Regions from separate parts of the Homo sapiens genome. Here regions 1, 2 and 3 are each linked to region 4. Evidence: promoter capture Hi-C in 16 types of primary human blood cells and fetal thymus (Javierre and others, 2016). All regions are on one chromosome and are shown on one strand. The core of a region is centred on a gene start or on the middle of the fragment in contact, and the rest is flanking DNA. Distances in the headings are between cores, read along the strand shown. Region 1 overlaps ZNF549 (zinc finger protein 549). Region 2 holds the start of ZNF550 (zinc finger protein 550). Region 3 holds the start of ZNF671 (zinc finger protein 671). Region 4 holds the start of ZNF432 (zinc finger protein 432).

Region 1 (3,458 bases), core at 559-3,058, 5.5 Mb before region 4:
CAGCAGTGGCAATAAACGGGAAGTAATAAAGATAATTCCTAACTGGCACAACAGATCTGGGTGAATCACAAAAACCACATATCTGGAAGGCAAGGTGTATGTTCTCTCAAATCCTGCTTTCCTGCCCGTGCAGCAATCATCTCAAAAACAGTACATAAGTTATGAGTCCACAAAATCTTTAGATGCCTTATGCTGACGATGTGTGTTGCTAAAGGAGAATCAAAGGTCTGAGGTCCTGAGAATTTCTATATACCCCCAAACCATGAAGCCATAGTAACACAGACATATCTGGATGCACCTTTGGATGGGACACATTCACTCTTCTTGGCCACAATCTTTTCTACTCTGTTTATCACACCTACCTGTCTGGGCCAATTACTGTTCTTACCTGGCCCCAGTAGGTCTTACAACCAGTGACCTACCTACCAATTCAGTCCTTCAGTGCCCATGGCTACAATGAAGGACCTGGGAAATAAGATACCATGAACAGTGCTGGGAAATATGAAGCATCACTGCAAATAAACAATTCATGCAGGTCCCAGCACTTGAGTTTGTCACAAATGCCTCTTCTCAGGGAGACCTCTGGACCTACAAATAAATCTGGCATCGACACCATGATTAGGACCACACAGCTCTGCTCTCCTTCCTAGGAGACCTTGGAAACCAATAAAAATTAAGACAAACAGGACTAAGAACTATTTTCCGATCTCATACTATGTCCCTGGGGGGACATAAAGTTGGAGCTGTTCACCCTTCACACTGGCAGAGCACATACATCAGCACATGGTAAGACAGCCCATTTCCCTCTTGGGTAATGTGGGAGAGGGAATATCCCACTATGGCAATCACATAAAAAAAAAAAAAACCTATGAAGAAGGTAAACCTCCATGGGCTACAAGAATCCAGATTGCTCTTCTTGGTCAAAGTTGGGTTTTGTCTTTGCCTCGAACAGTTCAGCAAGATGGAAGAGGACCCTCAACAGGCTTTTATTATATTATTCCCTTCAGAATTTGGTAAGCACAGTGGTCTGCATTCCTTGAGCACATGTGAGTGACTGATGAAAACGGTGAGGATATGCCACATGGTAGTGTCTGTTGTAACACTGGGCAGATTAGAAAGTACAAGTAATCTCTAGAAAGCTTCCCAAGTACTTGGACCTTGTAGTGAATCTTTCAACTAGTGATATGCAGATGTATGAGGGTGAATTTCTGTCTGTTGGATCCCTTGAAAAATCAGCTCTCTGGTGTCCTACAGTGAATAAGACAATTACACATCCCAACAATTGCTAGGGCTCTTCTGTTATATGTACCTTCTGGTGCCTGACAAGGGAATATCTTTTGTTGAAGGCTTTCCCACATTTACCACATTCATACGGCTTTTCTCCGGTGTGGATTCGCTGATGCTCAACAAGTTTGTTTTTATAGATAAAGGCCTTCTCACATGCAGTGCAGTTATAAGGCCTCTCTCCACTGTGAACTTTCTGGTGTTGAATGAGGCTGGTGCGGTGTCTAAAGCATTTCCCACATTCACTGCACTCACAGGGCTTTTCGCCAGTGTGAACTTTCTGGTGCTCAAGAAGTCTTTTTTGGTGGCTGAAGACTTTTCCACATTCATTGCACTCACAAAGTTGTTCTCTAGTATGGATTCTTTGGTGCTGAAGAAGTTTAACCTCAAGGTAGAAGCCTTTTCCACATTCACTGCATTCATAAGGCCTTTCTCTAGTGTGGATTTTGTGATGCTTAAGAAGTGTTTGTTTGGAGATGAAGGCTTTCCCACAGTCACTGCATTCATAAGCCCTTTCTCCAGTGTGAATTCTCTGGTGTCGCATGTAGTCAGACGAGCGGATAAATGATTTCCCACATATGATGCACACATAAGGCTTTTCTCCAGTATGAATTCTCTGGTGCTCAAGAAGTCTTTTTTTGTGAATGAAGGCCTTCCCACATTCTTTGCACTCATAAGGCCTTTCTCCCGTGTGGATTCTATGGTGATCAAGAAGTGACTGTTTGTATATGAAGGATTTCCCACATTCACTGCACTGATAAGCCCCTTCTCCAGTGTGAACTCTCTGGTGTCGAATGCGGTCATAGGAATGAATAAAAGATTTCCCACATTCCATACACACATAAGGCCTCTCTCCAGTGTGGATTCTCTGCTGATGGCCAACAAATGTTTGTTTGTGGCGGAATGATTTCCCACATACATTGCACACATAAGGCTTTTCTCCATTATGGGTTCTCTGGTGTTCCACAAGTGAGTATTTGGAGCTCAAGGATTTCCCACATTCGATGCACACATAAGACCTTTCTCTAGTGTGAATTCTCTGCTGGTGCCCAACGAGTGTTTGTTTATGGAGGAATGATTTCCCACATATATTGCACACATAAGGCTTTTCTGCATTATGGGTTCTCTGGTGTTCAACAAATAAGTATTTAGAGTTCAAGGATTTCCCATATTCCCTACGCTTATAAGCTTTTTCTCCAGTGTGGACTCTCTGATGCTCAGTAACATGAACTTTCTCATTGAAAACTTGCTCACATTTGTAACGTCTTTGTTGAAAGGTCTCCCTGCTTCTATGTGCATACTCTTGTCTGCTGTGGGTGGTCTGGTGTTGGAGAAGGCCCAGGATGGTTGGAAAATCCTTCTCAACATCTTTGCATGGGAAAAGATTGTCTGACAGAGGAATTTTGCAGCTATTCAGAAGCAAGGCACTGCTCTCCTCCTTTCTGATGTGTTTCTCTCCACTGTCCTGGTTCTGGTGCTGTTGCAGGTTAGAACCAAATGAAAACCATTTCCCACTGGCCACAGACGTATAAGGTTTCTGCCAGGGAAGTGTCCCCTGATGCTCACTGAGGTACAAAATGTCTTTCATGACCAGGATACACATCTCACAAGAATGAGCATTTGGGATGGAAGGACCTAGCTTTGGAGTCCTGGCCTGTGACACTCCTTGCGCAGAAAGAGTCTGCTCAGAAGGGGCCTCCTCAGCCTCTATTCCATGCAAACAACCTAAAAGCATAAAAATGCAAGTGAAGTATATGCAGACTTTGGTAGAAGGGAACAGCTCCATTACAAATACCTGTGGAACACAGGGAGGGACGAGTCCATGGTTTTTCTTTGAGATAGGGTCTTGCTCTGTCACCCAGATGGGAGTGCAGTTGCAGTCATATCTCACTGCAGCCTTGACCTTCCAAGCTCCAGTGACACTCCCATCTCAGCCTCCCAAGTAGCTAGGACTACAGGCATATACCACCATACCTGGCTAATTTTTTTTTAGAATTTCTTGTGGAGATACAGGTCTCATTATGTTGTCGAGGCTGGTCTCAAATTCCTTAGCTCAAGTGATCCTCCCACCTCAGCTTCCCCAAGTGCTAGGATTATAGGCACGAGCCATTGCACCCAGGCCATGGGTTTGTTTTCAGGACAAGGGAGCTGGAGTCAGGTCAAGGAAGATAATA
Region 2 (3,642 bases), core at 253-2,752, 5.5 Mb before region 4:
TTAACAATTGAGTAAGGTTTACTCCTGAGAACAAAATTTGGAACATGTTTGTTTCTCTCTGCCTTATTGGTTCTTTAAGGACCACTGCAACATGGTCTTGGGAATTATACTTCAAGAAGCCTATAAGGTTAAAGGGTGTTTATACTCACAGTGATATAGGAATAGCACTGGGTGGTTGCAGGAGGATGGAAAAATTCGAACAACAAATAAAAACAAGAACTAGGCAAAGAAACCATAGGATAACAGAAAACCCAAAATAAGAGAAAGAATGGCCAAAATCCCAGTCAGGATGACATGTCCATGACTCTTCTGGGCAAAGCCAAATAAGAGAGAAAGGGGGCAGTAACCAGGTGGGTCCCTGAATTTCCCTCCTTTTCCAGAATACCTAATAATTATTCCACTCTCTAATTAAAGAAACACCCACAAAATAGGAATGCTGTGTGGTCACAGGAGAAGGGGGAAAACATCAAGCTGTTAAAATTAGCTACTCCAACAAGAAGACTGGGCTGATGAGACCTTAACAAACAGGATTGGGGCTAGGCTGTCCCATGACGCTAGATTTGACCCATTTCCTACCCCAGACCTAATTATACACTCATTGCCACATTAAATCACACACCCACCAGTGCCAGGCCAATCCAAGCACGCCCACATTTAGTATAAAAATGGTTGGCACCCCAATTCTAAGAAATTCCCACCTTTTCCTAGAAAAACCTCATGATTATCCCACCCCCTAATTAGAAGAGCCCATAAAATTAGAAACCCAAACTCCATTGTGCATGACCCGCTCTCCCTCGTACGTCCGCATTTCCCTCTTCTCTTGGGAAAAGTACACTCTTCTCAAAAATGTGTACTTTTTCTTCCCAATAAAAGCTTCTTGCCTTTGGCTTCATTTTGACTCATCCCTGCATTCTTTCTCACGATGGTGTCACGAAGCTGGACTCCGGAAGCGGGCGGGGACTCACGGCCCCTGGAGACCTTCCTGAGCCCTGGGCAACACCAGTCCACACAGAGGAGGCAGACGTCCCACAGACGGAACCCCACGAGCATGTCCCGGGAATGGCTCCACGCGGGAAGCGGGGGTCCAGATCCACGCCAGTCCCAGGGACAGTGCCTGGCGTCAGGGTGGAGGAGGACGCAGTAACCAGGCGTAAGATTTTACTGGTACATGGGAATGTCACTGGGTCACTCAGAGGAGGCAAGCGGGGAACCTCGTGGCAGGGCCCCCTTTATCAAACTCGTTTACCTGGGTGCCTGGGCGAGTGCTCACAGCCTGCTTGTAGGGACGTTGAGGCATCCGAATAATAGGAAGTTTTAAAAATTTACAATCCAGTGTGTACACTTGCTCCGCTAAGATCATCTGAGATATACAGAAACATGGTGTGCATAATAAAAAAGGAAAAAGAGCCAAGCCTGGCCTCTTACGGGACAAGACTACATTACCTAGAAGGCAGTGGGCCGGCGCAGGAAAAGGCGTGGCAGGCGACCGCGACACAGGGGCGGGACTTCCGGCCTCGCTGGCGTGGACGTTTGTGGTGGGGCGTGTTGGTCCGCGCTCTCAGAACTGTGCTGGGAAGGATGGTAGGGCGACTGGGGCTCACCTCCGCACCGTTGTAGGACCCGGGGTAGGGTTTTGAGCCCGTGGGAGCTGCCCCACGCGGCCTCGTCCTGCCAACGGTCGGATGGCGGAGACGAAGGACGCAGCGCAGGTGAGCAGACTGGCTCGGCTCCCCGCGGCCACCCGGCCTCAGTGTCCCGGGCCCGACGAGCGGAAGGACGGCGTTTCAGGGTCGTCCTCAGTGCAGTCCCTGCCGTTGCTTCTTAGAGGCCTAGAAGGGGGTCGCGCGGTCCCGGGTCCGGAATGCAGGCCCGCGGTGGCGTGGGGAGCGTCCCCGTTTCTGGGGTGCGCGGCGTTGTGGTATGAAATAGGGCTTTTAGGGTCCCGGAACCCCTCACAGGTGAGAGGAGCGACCGCAGTCCTCCTCGTGGCTCTTCCAACCATGTCCTTTCTCGGGCCTGCGACCTTGAACAAGTCCCGTTACTGTCCTCGTCCTTCATTTTTGCGCGCGCAAAGTAGAAATATTTACTCTTCCCCCCCCCGGGGTTGAGGAAGCTTGAACGGCTCCCTGGGTGATGTGTGTGTGTCCGTCTCAGTGCACAGCACGGTCCGGGGACGTCGCTCAGGATGTTGTTTCCGGAGCTGCTCCCTGGGCCTGTGCTAGGTTTGGAGACTCAACCCCAGCAGGAGTCTGACCCTCTGGCCTCCTTGGCCTCCTGTCTCTACAACACGAAGGGCAGCGGCTGAAAGAGGTGGGAGGAGCGTTTCTGCGGTTGCTGCTATGCCAGGGCAGAAAAGGTGGTAGGGCAGGCTGAGGAATTTGTCTTTCAGTTTAGGGCAAGGGACGCTGGGTTGCAACTAACAGTATATTTTCCTGTTTAAGACATTTAGTTACAGGTGAAAAACGAGTCCATTAAAATGTTCAGTGGCGATGGTATGCAGGATGTAGTGTCCCTTTGGAGATAACACATGAGGCCCAGGGTTACTCTCTAGCAGTCACTCTGATTACTTTCATGATAGCCCAGATTACTGTCAGCTCCTGTCGTAGTTGTTAATTTCTCATCCACCTCTCCCTCCTTTGCTTTATTTCTGACTCCCTCTGGTGTCCGCTGCTTAAAGAGGTCTCGTCTGTTGCACCGTTTAAAGCTGACCAGAGTCTCTTTGGTCTCCTTGCTCTGTTTTCTTGTCATCTGAATCTTTAAGGCCATCTGACATTGCCTTACTCATTTATTTAGTTGCCTGTTTAGGATCTTTTTCCAACCCTGGAATGTGAGTGCCTGTTGCTTCCCTCTCCCAAGACCCAGAACAGCCAGGCTTAAGTACATTTATTGTACTTAATAAATGGTTGATGATTGAATAGGCCTCTCTTATAGGGACTCTCATCACATTTCCAATAAATCCACCCCCTCCTACCAGCATGGTCTGCAAGGCTGTACTTGGTTTGCCCTTTTGACCGCATCTTCTTTCTCCTCTTCCATTGTCCCCTTTCTCACTGCATTCATCCAGGGAATCCTGAGCTTGCCAAGCTCTTTCCCATTTTCAGCCTTTGCCCTTGCACTTCCCTTTGTCTGAGACATTGTTCTCAGGTCTCTGCGGGGCTGCAGTTCCACACCCATCCTGGCAGTGCTGGCTGTAGCTAAAAGCACCCCTCACTCCCACCTGCCTGCTCTCTGGCAGCTTGGTGAGGTGTTTTAGCGGTGCTCAAATGCTGCTTTTGCTTTTTAAATGTGAGGCTGTGCCTGATTTCTAAAGCTCCCTGAGCCTTTGCTGACTGTGAAATGGAAGTGATAACGACATTTACCTCTGGGCCTGTCAGGGGATTAATAAAGTTCCCAAACACATCAGGCACTTACATGTGCTAGGCACTCCACTGATTGCCTAAGTGAACATTTTCTGTTTAGTTCTTAGAGCTGCCTGCTGAGATGGGAATAGTTATTGTGTTGATTCGGAAATCGAGCCTTAGAGAGATCATGTGACATCGTCATAGTCACATAGCTGGCAAGTGTCAGATTCAGGAGGCCTGATTTAAGTCAGGCCTTTATTTGCTTTACCACGGCTAAGGAAGCCTTAGCCTGGCAGGGACA
Region 3 (3,159 bases), core at 519-3,018, 5.7 Mb before region 4:
TGTTAGCTGGTTATTTTGCTCATTAGTTGATGCAGTTTCTTCCTAGCCTTGATGGTCTTTACAATTTGGCATGTTTTTGCAGTGGCTGGTACCAGTTGTTCCTTTCCATGTTTAGTGCTTCCTTCAGGAGCTCTTTTAGGGCAGGCCTGGTGGTGACAAAATCTCTCAGCATTTGCTTGTCTGTAAAGTATTTTATTTCTCCTTCACTTATGAAGCTTAGTTTGGCTGGATATGAAATTCCGGGTTGAAAATTCTTTTCTTTAAGACTGTTGCCTTCTTTAGAATATTTATTTAGGGTATTGTGACAAAGTCAAAAGGTGATGCAGGACAAAAATCATTATATGCAGGACATGTCCTGTATGTATAGGAATCTTGGAAATTTTATTAGTGATGTCTTTCATGCTACTAACACATTTGAAAAACACCTACTGAGAGCTCGTATGTGTTCCTTGGATGTGTATTTTAACAGTGAATTATCAAGACAGCACAACTTCACTGTTGATTTTTACCATTCTGATATCTTCTTTACAATTGCTCAGCATTTTCAGGAAAAAAGAGTCACATTTTGTTGACAAAGTGTGGTCAAGATCACAACACAACCATATGCTTAACTTCATTCTTTCACTTATACTTTAGTATTCAGGCTCAAACTTTACTGAGATCTTAACTTTGTCCATCTATCACAGATATTTCCTTAGAGCAATTTCTTTCATTATCTTCAAATAACTACGGAATCATTATTAATAGCTGTCAGGATTTTTCCCCCGGGGATAATCTCACCTCCTAACACAGACACCATACTTACAATGACAATGACAGGTTAAATGGTAATTGCACTGTGTTTTGCTGTGATGGAGACATCACTGATTACCCAGGCAGGAAGAGTTTTCTGAAGAAATCTGTCCACTGGTTTCAGGGAGACTCCACATCATCCCTCTTCCTTCTTCCACTCCAAGGCCTTGTTTGGAATATTTTCTCTTCCGTCTCTGACCAAACTGAAGCTCACAAAAGTTACTGTAAAGCTTGAGTGCACACATATTTAAAAAGCAACAAGGTAATAGTTATTAGCTTCTAGCTGTGAGTGTACGCAAAGAGACATTGTGGTGTGGTGTATCTATTTAGTTTTGCAGCTTTGGGGAACATCTGAAATGTCTCAACATTTCTGCGATCGGTGCATACTACACTCCAGGGAATCTAGGTCCAGGCCTTTTAAGAGGACAGAAGTCAGCCGGGCACCATGGCTCACTCCTGTAATCCCAGCACTTTGGGAGGCCGAAGCAGGCAAATCACAAAGTCAGGAGTTCGAGACCAGCCTGGCCAACATGGTGAAATCCCGTACTCTGCTAAAAGTACTAAAATTAGCCTGGCGTGGTGGCGGGCCCCTGTAGTCCCAATTACTTGGGAGGCTGAGGCAGGAGAATCGCTTGAACCCGGGAGGCGGAGGTTGCAGTCAGCCGAGATCGCGCCACTGCACTGCAGCCTGGGAGACAGAGCGAGACTCTGTCTCAAAAAAAAAAAAAAAAAAAAAAAAGAGGACGGAAGTCCTGTCAGCCCTTTGAAACTCGGGTTACTTTTCCCAAACAACTTGGCCCTCCTACTTCGAGTTTTCCCAAGAGCCCAGGCCGAGAATCCCCTGCCTTGAAGGATAGCTCAGTGGGAACCACACTCTACCCACAAACCTATACGTTGCATACCCAATGAGGGCCCAGGAGAGGGGTGTTTCAGTGCCTGCGGGGGGTGCGTGGGCGGGACTTCCGGCTCCTCCTTGTAGCGGACATTTTGTTTCTGTCAGGCTGTCCCTGGCCGGGGTTCTGTAACGCTTGTGTGGGCCGCAGGTGGAGGTGTTGGGAAAGCGCGGAGGAGATGTTGTCCCCAGTGTCCCGAGACGCGTCTGATGCTCTGCAGGGACGGAAGTGCCTGCGTCCCCGATCGAGACGCCTGCCGCTCCCGGCAGCTGTCCGCGCCCACGGTCCTATGGCGGAGCTAACGGACTCCGCGCGGGTGGGTGCTGCGTCCTCCGGGCCCTCAGTCACCCTTTCTCCGACTCCGAATCGTAAAGTGCCTGCAGCCCCTGTGTCCCAGGACAGCGACGCACTCTTGGGGCGGGGTCCTATCTCGGTGTGGGTGGGTGTGGGAGAGTTACGGGCGGAGGGGACGGCGCAGGTAAAGGCTCGGGGGTGCTGCTGACCCCCAAACATTTGGGAGACAGGGTTCTCATCAACACAGAGCAGAGTTTGAGGAACTGTGACTGGAATGGCAGGCTGAGAAGTTGTCGCTTCATTCTGAGGGCGTTGAGATTAACTGAGGGTTTTGAATAGAAGGACGTGATCTTAGCTGGGATTTTAAGTGTCTCGAAATTTGCTCAGGGGAGAACATTAGTTTGGGGTGGGGACTGCGAGGATGGATACGAGGAGACCGGTAAGGAGGCTACTGCAGTGGATTCCAGGAATGCTTTGGTGGTGGATGTACCAAGAGTAATGGCAGGTGAGTGGGTAGAAGTGATCATATTCTGGGTAGGTTTTAAATTTGAAACCAACAGGATTTTCTGCTCCATCATATGCAGCTATGACTGAAAGTAAGGCATGAAAGAGCAAGGTGTTTTTGTTGTTTTTCCATGAACGTTTGGATTTTGGAATGGTGACTTTGAGATGTCTCAGAGTGGAGGCTTCCTCACTTAGGCAACTAGAGAGGAAGGTCTGAAGTTGTGGGGAAGGGGCTGGGCTTAGAATATCTTTGGGGTGAAGGGAGCGGTCTGGAGTAGGTCAAGGCCAGGAGGTCAGATTTAAGTGGGGCAGTCTTAAGTATGTTATTTCATATCTCTGGGGTAAGAGATGAGAAGGCTGGGACTGCAGGGCAGGGAAGAGGGAGTGGGCATTCTTGAGACTCCCCCCAGAAGAGAAGGGTCCTGCCATTTGAAAGGGTTCTTTTCAGTGTTTGCAGGAGGAGAGAGCTGTAGGGTATGAGGAGTTTGGCCTGGGATGGCAACGATGGGTGGTGTGCTATTGCTACTATCTGATTATCTCACCCTCATTTTGTGTGTTTTCTTTTAGTTTTAGTTTATTTATTTTTTTTATTTTTTTTGAGACGAAGTCTCACTCTGTCGCCCAGGGTGGGATGCAGTGGCTTATTGCAACCTCTACCTCCCGGGTTCAAGAGATT
Region 4 (3,390 bases), core at 208-2,707:
ACCCATAGGGCACTTGTCAAAAAACAATCAGCAGCAATTGTTTAACACTAGAGTGTTTAGGGGAGTGACAGTGTGTGTCTGCGTGATAGATGGAAGTAATAAGAGGGCACAGGGGAAAGGGGCCATACGCATAAGATGATGGAACAGAGAGCCTGGAGGGTGGGGTATAGAGAGTGTAGGGGAAGGGAGAAGGCAGACAGGTAAAAGGAAAAAGAATGTTAAGTGTTGTTCAGCCTCAAGACTGACATGATGAAAGTACCTTTATTGTGGTTTTTGTAAATTAGAATGCATGCTTTATTATTAAAAAAAACACAATTGAAAATGTTAAGGACCTTTTCCTCCTTGCTTCTTATAAGAAACCATCATAAGACATAACTTGTAATAATTCTGTAGAAATATACATATATAAAGATATATGTATATATATATTTTAAAATAGTATGTTTTTATTGCAAAATATTCATTAGTGTCATCATATCATAGCCAGATCTACAACCCCAGAGTAATTCCCATGGTTATGTTACATGGCAAAAAGGACTCTGCATTGTAATTAAGTTTATTAATCAGCTGACTTTAGCATTGGGAGATTATTCTGGATTGCCCAAGCACTTAAGAATAGGAGAAACCGGAGAGATGCAGCAGCAATAGTCAGTGGTTTCAAATATGAAAGGGATTTCACATACTATTGTTGGCTTTAAAGATAGGAAGTCGTGGGGGCAAGGAAACTCTCTAAAGGAAATTAATCTGGCAACAACCTAAATAATTCTAGAAAAGGATTCTTTTCCAGAGTCAAGAACAGAGCCAGGTGGTTCTTCTCTTCTAAAGACATTTCCATGGGCCAGTTCCACCGCAAGCTTCTCAGAGAGAATATGTTCTGCCGTACGGACACCGAACGTCCCCTAAGATGGCCGCCCCCATGATGCTCTCCCCTAAGGGCTCTGGCTCCGTTACCTGCAACGCACCGCTCGCTTATTTTTTGTTCTAGTCTCTCTTGCTTCAGTTTTTATACGGCTTCTAAAACGCTTCGCATTTACAATAGTGACTGAGGTGCCCAGAGGTGACTTTAATTTTCCATTGAGCTGAGACGTCACAGCCATCATAACCGCTAAGAAGGGATGCCGCGCCTTTGTGGTAATAATGGGTTCTGGCCTTTGAGAAGTTTGCGCCGTTCACTGTCCCCTGCGAGGAGAAGACTAACTTATTTCTGTTCCGTGTCTGTTCAGAGGACTTTACCCCCACGCCGTGTCTGCCTGTGTGAACTCAAGCCTCTGATAAGCTCTCCATTTTCTGCCAGGGCTGAGGTGTCTGGAAATCGGACAGTTTAAGAGGCCTCCGTCCACCGCGTCTCCCGGCCGCTGTGCCTTCTGTACGTCACGTACTCAAAGATGGCCGCCCCCAGAGCGGCGAGGCGACGCCGGCGCGGACGCGTCTCCTCCTGAGGAAAAGCCGGAAGGCCGCATTCCGCTCTCCATGGAAACGCGGCTGACCGTCTCTGGAGGTTTAGAGGGGGAGGGAGTTGGGCGAGGGGCCCAGAAGTGGAAGAAGTTTAGGGAAGTAAGTTCAGCTTTTAAGAGGTCGCGGCGATTCCAAGGAGAGTCAGGTCAGTGTGTGGGTCAGGGCGTGGAAACGTGGTGGGAGGGAGCTTTCTGAGGGCGTCTGCGTTGTTGGTGGCGCTATATGGTGGAGGTAGCGCGGGGGTTGGGGGAGGCGGGGGCGGGTGTTTCCTTTTGGAGGGGAGCTGGTAGGAGTCCCTGGTGGGTGTCTGTGATAGGATATCTTTGGGGTCCCTCATGGAGGCTCTGGTGGTCAGTGATTAAAGGCCTGAATAGATCAACGACCAAGAGTACTGAGGTCAGGGATTGTGGTCCTCGCGGGTCACTCCCCAGTGGGGCTCAGTGATTGAGAATCGATGGGGTGGCTTTTGTCAACGAATGTGACTTCTGTTTCACATTCTGGATTAATCTGAGGCTTAGTGATTGATGAATCATTAAGGGAATCCAGTGTACGTGTGTGTCTATTCCAGGTTTTCCTATTTTATCTGGCGGGGTGGTGGTCTTTTGTCTAGAGACAAGTGAAAGCCGAAGTCTTTTCACAAGAGCCCTGGCTGGTTTTGTGTGTGTGTGTGTGTGTGTGTGTGTGTGTGTGTGTGTGTGTGTGTGTGTGTGTTGAGCTCAAACTTTGGCTGGAACAGACTTGATGAACGTTAACATTTCCTAAAAGTTTCAGGTCCGAGTACCTCCTCCACAATGAGTTTTCTAATCCTCTGGCTTTCCACAACAACCCATGCTCTTGAACCTGCAGAAAATGAAAGTTTTTTGGGGGTGAAGGGGGGCGGATGAATAGGCTTTCTATTTAACATTATGTTTTTAAATTACTGCGCACAAATTAACAAGAGCCTATTTTTATCCTTCCTCTTGCAAATGTACTGCATATTTTTATGGGTGTTTCAGGTTTTGTATGTTAGTATATAAAGGCGGCTATTTTCCCAGTATTTATATTTTTGAATTGTTTTCTAAATTTGTATTTATAACTCGTATTCCTTTTCTCTGTCTCCCTCTTTTTTTCTATGTGTTTCTTGTTCTTCATATTGAAGTGTGTATATAAACATTTTTTTTTTTTTTTTGAGATGGAGTCTTGCTTTTGTCGCCCAGGCTTGAGTGCAATGGCTGGGCTCACTGCAAACTTCGCCTCCTGCGTTCAAGCCATTCTCCTGCCTCAGTCTCCGAGTAGCTGGGATTACAGGTGCCTGCCACCATGCCTGGCTAATTTTTTCTATTTTTAGTAGAGACAGTGTTTCACCATGTTGACAAGGCTGGTCTCGAACTCCTGACCTCAGGTGATCTGCCCATCTCGGCCTCCCAAAGTGCTGGGATTACAGGTGTAAGCCATCATGCCTGGCCGTATATAAACACTTTTAAATATATATAAAGACTTTTAAAGAGGTGTGAGAGTAACATTGTATAAAGGAAAAAATGTAGTTTCTCACCATCCATATGGCCTGATTTAAAAAACTGATATGAGAATTACCTACTGCTTAGGCATGATGCTATGTGGATTCTCCTTTGTGACCTCCCCTTTCATCTTCATGTTACTTCCACACTTCACCGAAGAAAGGCATTTGGCCTACATTGAGGGTCTTGTGTTTCCTTGGTTTGAGAGAACCAAATAAAGAGACAAATATTCAGGGCCACGTGTTAAGGTGAATGTACCCCTGAAAGTTGTTTTGCTCTTCAGTCCACAGGTCCTGGCTACCCTGGGAAGAGACAAGAAGTAAATGAAGAAAGAGGAAGATTCCAGGACCTAGATATGATTTCTGTGGACACCCTTCACTGGTGACTGAAGTTTCTAAATAGAAATTTAAGGCAGATCCAGAGGAGACAAAGACAGAGT

The links. Contacts are between HindIII fragments. The CHiCAGO score rates a contact against its expected background, and 5 or more counts as called.
Region 1: a contact is called between a fragment that was not itself captured here and the fragment with the promoter of ZNF432 in region 4, in 3 of 17 cell types (activated CD4 T cells, non-activated CD4 T cells and naive CD8 T cells). The highest score is 7.3, in activated CD4 T cells.
Region 2: a contact is called between the fragment with the promoter of ZNF550 here and the fragment with the promoter of ZNF432 in region 4, in 2 of 17 cell types (non-activated CD4 T cells and activated CD4 T cells). The highest score is 10.0, in non-activated CD4 T cells.
Region 3: a contact is called between the fragment with the promoter of ZNF671 here and the fragment with the promoter of ZNF432 in region 4, in 1 of 17 cell types (activated CD4 T cells). The highest score is 7.3, in activated CD4 T cells.

What each region holds. Positions count from the first base shown.
Region 1 is chr19:57,536,755-57,540,212 of GRCh38, reverse strand. It overlaps ZNF549 (zinc finger protein 549), which reads right to left. Exons shown (of 4, transcript NM_001199295.2): 4 at 1-3,009. The coding sequence ends at 1,286. Among named protein-coding and RNA genes, the nearest start is that of ZNF549, 11 kb to the right of the region's middle. The HindIII fragment of the contact is 1,333 bases long and covers 1,142-2,474 here.
Region 2 is chr19:57,557,723-57,561,364 of GRCh38, reverse strand. It overlaps ZNF550 (zinc finger protein 550), which reads left to right and starts at 1,502. Exons shown (of 4, transcript NM_001397372.1): 1 at 1,502-1,709. The coding sequence starts at 1,683. It overlaps LOC124904781 (a long non-coding RNA gene), which reads right to left and starts at 1,423. Exons shown (of 2, transcript XR_007067357.1): 1 at 1,247-1,423. RefSeq lists enhancers at 1,141-1,250, 195-1,394, 1,881-1,930, 1,372-2,236, 2,381-2,460. The HindIII fragment of the contact is 1,240 bases long and covers 876-2,115 here.
Region 3 is chr19:57,726,233-57,729,391 of GRCh38, reverse strand. It overlaps ZNF671 (zinc finger protein 671), which reads left to right and starts at 1,768. Exons shown (of 4, transcript NM_024833.3): 1 at 1,768-2,001. The coding sequence starts at 1,864. RefSeq lists enhancers at 1,422-1,471, 1,612-2,051, 1,569-2,069 and a silencer at 1,390-1,615. The HindIII fragment of the contact is 7,103 bases long and covers 1,025-3,159 here.
Region 4 is chr19:52,046,905-52,050,294 of GRCh38, reverse strand. It overlaps ZNF432 (zinc finger protein 432), which reads left to right and starts at 1,457. Exons shown (of 5, transcript NM_014650.4): 1 at 1,457-1,600; 2 at 3,235-3,390. RefSeq lists an enhancer at 1,085-1,674. The HindIII fragment of the contact is 4,326 bases long and covers 857-3,390 here.